Linked DNA regions of Homo sapiens: region 1 is linked to region 2. The links are contacts of gene promoters, found by promoter capture Hi-C in blood cells and fetal thymus (Javierre and others, 2016). All regions are on one chromosome and are shown on one strand. Each heading gives the region's core, a stretch centred on a gene start or on the middle of the fragment in contact. The rest is flanking DNA. Distances are from core to core; before and after follow the strand shown.

Region 1 (3,625 bases), core at 92-2,591, 520 kb after region 2:
ACCAGTACTATAAAAATTTATATCTCACTGGAGGATTTCATAGATGTGTGCTTTTTTTCTCTTTTTCCCTAGGTGCCCAAGGAAAATTTATTGCTTTTTACCTTTTGGGGATGTTTATTCCTTATCTTTATGCATTGTACCTCATCTGGGCAGTATTTGAGATGTTTACCCCTATCCTCGGGAGAAGTGGTTCTGAAATCCCACCTGATGTTGTGCTGGCATCCATTTTGGCTGGCTGTACAATGATTCTCTCGTCCTATTTTGTAAGAGAAAATAAGTTTTTTTCTTTTTCTTCATTTTTTATATGAATATGAATTTAGCCATACTAGATTCTGTGAAATAGTGTTACGTGTACTTTATTGAGAAAATCTGAAGCAGAAGAAATGGTGAATGAATGGCCATGCATCTTGTAAATTTGGTATCGTAAGAAACTGTAGTATAGAGTTTGTTGTTGCTGTTTAAAAGTTTTTTGCCTCCCTATCCTTCCAAATTCTCTGATTTACCTCTTTTCAAATAGCCTGTCAGATACCTGAGTGTGAATTTGTAGAGCGTTTACCAAGTATTAATTGTTAGAGATTGCCTGGTGGTGAATGATCCTAATAGTATATTTTGAAATTACTAATTAGAGGCACATGTTAATAGATACATGGGTGGTTTTATTAGTGCTTTTAGAGCTAGTGAAGGAAGACTAAATCTGATGAGGCTTTTTTCATTATCATTCCACTACCTTGTTGCTACCACATGAAAGCTTGTTAATTGAGTCTGTTATGACACCCAAACGTGCCTTCATTTACCAAATAATGAAATGATCACAGGCCTTGTCAGTCCTCATTTTGCCGTATCAGTGTCCTGCCCTAGTAAGGAGAGTCCTGTGTTTGCCATCCCTTTTTTTCTTCCCTTGGGATTCCCAGAGGGAAGAAAAGACAGTGATGCAGAGTTTAAGACCAGACCCCCCTTGAGCAGAGTAAGCCCCAAGCAAGGTTTTGCTTTGGTTTGATGTCCACCTCCACGATCCAAGATGGGCCCCTCCAGAGAATGCAGGTCTCTTTTGGTGGGAATTCCTAAGAATAAAAAGTAATTATTGAACACTCAGAGGTGCACCTTGAAATTTGAGGATAGGGAACCAAACAGGAAAAGGAGCTATGATTTTATTATAGTTCTTTTCTTCATGGAGATGATAGTGAGCCTTTTCATACTGATATAGTAAAGGGCATTCGTTACCCCTTTACTTTGTGGAAGTTAGGTTCTAAAGACAGCAGGTAAGGAAAACACTACACACATGGTCAGCATCATCCGTGGAAGTCCCTTATAGCCAGTAAAGCTCTATATATGTGACTTTGTGTATATAGTCCTGTAGAGTAATTCTTATGCATATTATTGTTTGAGGTTGGTTGTACTAGTCTTAAAAGAGATCTGAGCCTTCCAACCATTTTACTTATAGGATAATTATTAAGGATAATATAAGGATAAGGATAATCCTTATTGGTATTCATAGGGCTGTATGAAAAGTTCTAAAATGTTCTTTGCTGCCTGTAGGGTTTGCTGCTTTTGAGTTTAATAGTAACCCTTATATCATCTGTATTTTTGATAGGTTTGCTGTTGTAAGGATTGAAGGAGACAGTGGACTTTTGTTATCTATAGATTAGGTTCTAATCTAATCTGAAGTCAACTAGTTATGAACTGAATGCCCCCACACCCCCGTTTATTTGTTAAATTATAGTCATGAATGGGAGCTATGGATGTCCATAAAAGATGACTCAGATAGGGGACATTTAAATTCTGTTCCACTGATAATATGAAAGGGGGCAAAATGAACCCTGGAGATGTTCATTGTGGAAATGGAAAATGTCCCCAAAGCATGGAAATCTTGGAAACCAGAAGAAAGAGGATTAAAGTGTCTTATCATCTAAATTATATTTTATTGGGAAAGCTTTTGGAGAGAAGACTGCCTCTTGGAATACTTTAGAAAGCTCACTTATTTTTCATTATAATGTGAAATAGCCCTGCCGCACTTTGATGCCATGAGTTATCACTCTTTTAATTATTTTCTTACTTATGTGTAGCAGTGTTAATGATAGTGGCTTATTAATAGAGTAAGACTGTTTTCTTTGGGTAATGGAGAATTGAACCACAATGCATATTTCAGACAGCTTTCCCTTCAGTCCTTGGGGATTTATTAAATACATCTGCTAGAAAGCAATTAAAGTCTTGTCAAGCAATCACGGTTTTTTGTTTGTTTGTTTGTTTGTTTGTTTTTGAGACAGAGTCTCGCTCTGTCACTCAGGCTGGAGTGCAGTGGTGTAATCTCGGCTCCCTGCAACCACCGCCTCCTGGGTTCAAGCAATTCTCGTGCCTCGGCCTTCCTGAAATATTGCATCCTGTGTCACTCTAGGTTCTGAGATGGGTGCAAAATAAAATGAAGAGAAGCATGAAAAGGGACTCTGAAATGTCCATTGTGTGCTGATAACTGAGCTGTTTCTGAGTCTTCTCCTCCTGACCCCACTTGTATCAGCAGTCCCCATTTCCCCTGTCATTCAATCAGTATACGTATAACCATGAAGGTCCAGCAGAGAATAACTTAAGGACACCTATTAACTGATTGCTTGCTGGGCATGGTGGCTCACGCCTGTAATCCCAGCACTTTGGGAGGCTGAGGCGGGTGGATGACTTAAGGTCAGCAGTTCAAGACCAGCCTGGCCAACATGGTGAAACCCTGTCTGTACTAAAAACACAAGAAATTAGCTGAGCACGGTGGTGCACACTTGTAATTTCAGCTACTCAGGAGGCTGAGGCACAAGAATCGCTTGAACCTGAGTGTTGGAGATTGCAGTGAGCTGAGATCGTGCCTCTGCACTCCAGCCTGGGTGACAGAGCGAGACTCTGTCTCCAGAAAAATAAATAAAATTTCACATTCATGTTATTTTTCTACTTATGGAAATAAGTAGAGAAATAAAATGAAGAAGGCATAAAGGGGAGGTGGGTTTAGATTTCATGTCTATAGTATACCAATATTCCATCCAGAGGCATCTGCAGCAAAACAGTACTAGCCTTAGGTCACACATCTCACATTTGTATACTGAGTACAAAAATATGACAGAGTACCTGAGGACTTGAGGCTGAGCTAGCAAAACAAAATGTGTCACCCTCGCTGTCCATCTTTCTCTCAGTATTCACAATATTTAAAATGTGGCTTCTTAGAACAATTTCAGATTTCACATAAAAGTTTCCCCAAATGGCTTCTTCAGACCCTGTAAGGGATCTGTGGACATACTCTGTGAGTCGTGTGTGTCCTTTACAGTTTTTAGTTCAGCGATTTCATTACGATTGAAAATATTTAGGATTTTCTAGATGCCAACCTTGAGACTGAGTCATTTACATTTACTGCCTAGATTTATTGTTTTGATTGTGTTGGCATTGGTTAATTTGTCACTTAGAGGGATAATATTACTTTGTAATGCAGTTTTTCCTCTTATGCAGGTCCACTGGCAGAGTCTTGAAGGTACATCTCTATGCCAGTTGAGATGAATTTAGTATTTTGACATATTTTAAAGCATTATGAGTGGAATTTGAGTTTTGTCCAAACAGATCTGCCTAAGCTTAAAGCTTATCTCTGGTTATTTAATGA
Region 2 (3,743 bases), core at 30-2,529:
TTGTAGGCCAGGTGAAGCTTTCAAGGTGACTTTGAGACTGAGGGAAGGAAGGAAATGGGGAAGGGAAAACAAACAAACAAACCAAAAAAACACTACAGATTACTTCATACCTCTTTCAAGCTTAAACAGAACTCTACTTTGGCTTTCTAATAAGCTAGTTTTCCAAAAGAGAGTTTGGGCTTTGGCCTAAGACCCCTCTGGAGCCACTGACTTGCCCATTAGATACAGTCTCAGGAAAGCTAATATAATGGCACATTTCGTCTACAAACTTAAGTGAAAAATAACCAGGTACAAAACTTTGGGTTCTCTATCTTAAAAGCAGCAAATATCTGTGTTCTTTTCTCAAAACTGGATTCTGTCAATTTCCTGAATTAACCACTTTACCATTGTGGTTTGCTTGCTTGTTTTTGTTGGGCAGAGTTGCAAATGTAATAAGGGAAGGGGGTCCTTGCACTGGTTTAGTACCAGGCAAGGTTACCAAGGGGGCTCATTCTGGTTCCAGAAAGTGGAGATGGTCATCCTCACTCTCCAGAACTGGGAGTGGCTCATTCCCACTCCCCGGAATCTGGAGTGGGTCTTCCCCACACCCCAAAACTGAGAGCAGATCAACCCCACCCTCCGCAGAAGAAAGACAGTCAGGGCCAAGCTCTTTTGCCCCCTGAGACTTTGGACTTGATTGTCCCCATCAGACCTTCAAAAGATCTGAATGTGGCCGACTTCTTCACGCCTCCAAGCTTCCTGCAGATGAGAGTGCCCATGGTGGACAGAGCAGCTGATGTCTTCTGTTTCACATAGGTGTTGGAGACCTGAACATCAAGCCAGCTCTTGGACAGATTCTGTCTCAGCCCTACCAAGGCGGTGAGGCCTAACTTCCTCTTGAGTTCCCCACAGCGTCTCTCTTTGGCTGCTAGTACGTGGCGTAGGGTTACAATTTCAGCCTCCAATTTAGTGAGTTTGGTTTTGAGCTCTCTTTGCTCGGGCTCTGTCAGATCCTCCAGTTCAGAAGTCGAGTGGGATTCATATGTGCCCACAGAGGTCTCTGTCCTGGCATGTGGCATGGACTGGGAAAGAAGATCTTCGTTAAGAGAGTCCAGGTCCAATTCTTGGTAGAAAGAGTCGAATTATTGGGCTGCAGAGAAATAATCTTGGCCAGCAGAGTCGAAATCTAGGCCTGCAGGCTCAGACTCTTGGCAGGTGGAGTCAGATTTCAGGCGGGAGGGATCCATGGCCCAGCTGGTACAATGGACACCTTGACAGTTGAGTTGACGACCTGGCCTGTGAAGTAGACACGCTAGCTCGTGGTGTTCACTTCCGGGTGGTGGGGGTGGGGAGCCGGGCTGGTCAGGGTTGCGGAGGTGGGACTTCCCGCCCAAACCGCGAGGCTGTAGAATCAGTGCTCAGCTGAGGCGCAACCCACACTGGCGGCATTTTGGCATTGCGAGGACCTCCTGAGGTAGGCAGTGCAGAGATTATTGTCGAAAAGAGAGGAATTTCTCCTGACATGGTAAATGACAAGCCCTGGCCTTCAAACCAAAGCGTCAGGCAACTGTTTTCCACCACACCAGCTCCAACACTTGAAAATCATTTAAACATCATTGTGCTAGTATGAATTTTCAGTTTTGCAGTTGCATTTTCTTTATTCCGCCCTACCTCCACTCACATTTCTGGAAGCATGTCTGCCTACATTCAAGGTTACCTGTTGTGGGAGGTAGTCTGCACAGTAAAGTAAAACTAGTTAAATAGGATCTATCAGAGTGTGGATCCACTCTCCCCTGCCAACCTGCCACCCCAACCTCCCCCCAACCGTAATTCTGCCGAGAGTAAACTTATGCAATGGAAAAATCAGGACGTTAATCCAGTGAGGTCTTGTGGTCGAGCTTCACTTAGCTCATTCTATGGCTGCCTATTCTCAGAGAATATTCTTGAGCAAGTCTTAGACTCTAGTGATTTTGTTGGATATTCTTGTAATTCTTGCGAGCATGATCTTGTGGAACATAATTTGATCCTCAGCAAATTTCAGCAGTTTGCCCTACTCATGCCTATGTGGCTACAATGAAGCATCCAGCTGTGCATTCAAACCAACTTCAGCCCTCCTTTGAGTTTATGTTCTATAACCCTTTCACATAATTTAGTAGTGTTTATTATTGCCTTGTCCTGAGTGGTGTGTTTCCCTAAGTTAAAAAGTGAGAATTGTTCTTGTAAACATGAAGGCTGATGGAGGATTTGGCTATGTGTTTAAAGGCCTGAAAAGGGCAGCAAGGACTCCCTAAAAACCAATTTGTTCCAGAGGGTAGACTTTTCCTCTATTGCCTGTAGAAACACTAGTGGTTTCAGGAACACTCCCAGACTCTGAATCAGAACTCCTCTTTCAAACCTGAGACTAAAGGGTAAAGAAATCCCTGAATTATGCTACATAATATAGAACACACATTGTCTCTTCAAAGTTGAGACTCCAAATCACCAAATCTGAACTTGCACTTGATTTTACTTCTCTGTATTATTTCAACCACCAACCTTGATGCCTATTTTCTTTATAAGCTTCCTCATCCTTCAGTGTATACTATGAAATCTTTTATTAAGCCTTGATTCCTTTTGACAGAGAATGGTTTTTTTTCTCATAGCAAAACTGAGCTTTTCAGACACTTAGTTGCCAGATCCCACATCAAGACATACCCTGTCATTCAAATAGGAAAATAAGAAGTCAAATTATTTCTTTTTCAGATGATATGATTCCATATCCAGAAAACCCGAAAGGCTCCACCAAAAGGCTCCTGGAACTGATAAATGACTTCAGTAAAGTTTCAGGATATAAATTCAGTATCATTTCTATATATCAATAATGTGGCCGGGCGCGGTGGCTCACACCTGTAATCCCAGCACTTTGGGAGGCTGAGGCGGGCGGATCACGAGGTCAGGAGATCGAGACCATCCCGGCTAAAACGGTGAAACCCCGTCTCTACTAAAAATACAAAAAATTAGCCGGGCGTAGTGGCGGGCGCCTGTAGTCCCAGCTACTTGGGAGGCTGAGGCAGGAGAATGGCGTGAACCCGGGAGACGGAGCTTGCAGTGAGCCGAGATCCCGCCACTGCACTCCAGCCTGGGCGACAGAGCGAGACTCCGTCTCAAAAAAAAAAAAAAAAAAAAAAAAAAAAAAAAAAAAAAATAGACAAAAGACATGAACAGACACTTTTCAGAAGAAGACATACAAGTGGCCAACAAACATATGAAAAAACATATGAGAAAATGTTCCACATCACTAATCATCAGAGAAATTCAAATCAAAACTGTAATGAGATAACATCTCACACCTGTCAGAATGGCTATTCTTAAAAAGTCAAAAAACAACAGATGTTAAGAAGGCTATGGAGAAAAGGAAATGCTTATACACTTATACACTTGTGGTGGGAATGTAAATTCAGCTACTGTGGAAAACAGTTTATAGATTTCTCAAGTAACTTAAAACAGAACTACCATTAATCCAGCAATCCCATTACTAGGTGTATATGCAAAAGAAAACAAATCATCCTATTGAAAAGACACATGCACTCATATGTTCATCACAGCACTGTTCACAATAGCAAAGACATGGAATCAACTTAGGTGCCCATCAATAGTGGATTGGATAAAGGAAATGTGGTATATATACAGCATGAAATACTACACAGGAATAAAAAAGAATGAAATCATGTCATTTCCAGGAACATGGATGCAGTTGGAGGCCATTATCCTAGGTGAATTAATGC

The links. Contacts are between HindIII fragments. The CHiCAGO score rates a contact against its expected background, and 5 or more counts as called.
Region 1: a contact is called between a fragment that was not itself captured here and the fragment with the promoter of TPD52L3 in region 2, in 1 of 17 cell types (endothelial precursors). The highest score is 5.5, in endothelial precursors.

The regions. Positions count from the first base shown.
Region 1 is chr9:5,801,665-5,805,289 of GRCh38, reverse strand. It overlaps ERMP1 (endoplasmic reticulum metallopeptidase 1), which reads left to right. Exons shown (of 15, transcript NM_024896.3): 10 at 73-263. Among named protein-coding and RNA genes, the nearest start is that of ERMP1, 30 kb to the left of the region's middle. The HindIII fragment of the contact is 1,182 bases long and covers 751-1,932 here.
Region 2 is chr9:6,325,911-6,329,653 of GRCh38, reverse strand. It overlaps TPD52L3 (TPD52 like 3), which reads right to left and starts at 1,279. Exons shown (of 2, transcript NM_001001874.3): 1 at 692-1,279. The coding sequence starts at 1,058. LOC107987046 (a long non-coding RNA gene) reads left to right here and starts at 1,386. Exons shown (of 3, transcript XR_001746614.2): 1 at 1,386-1,453. The HindIII fragment of the contact is 1,804 bases long and covers 737-2,540 here.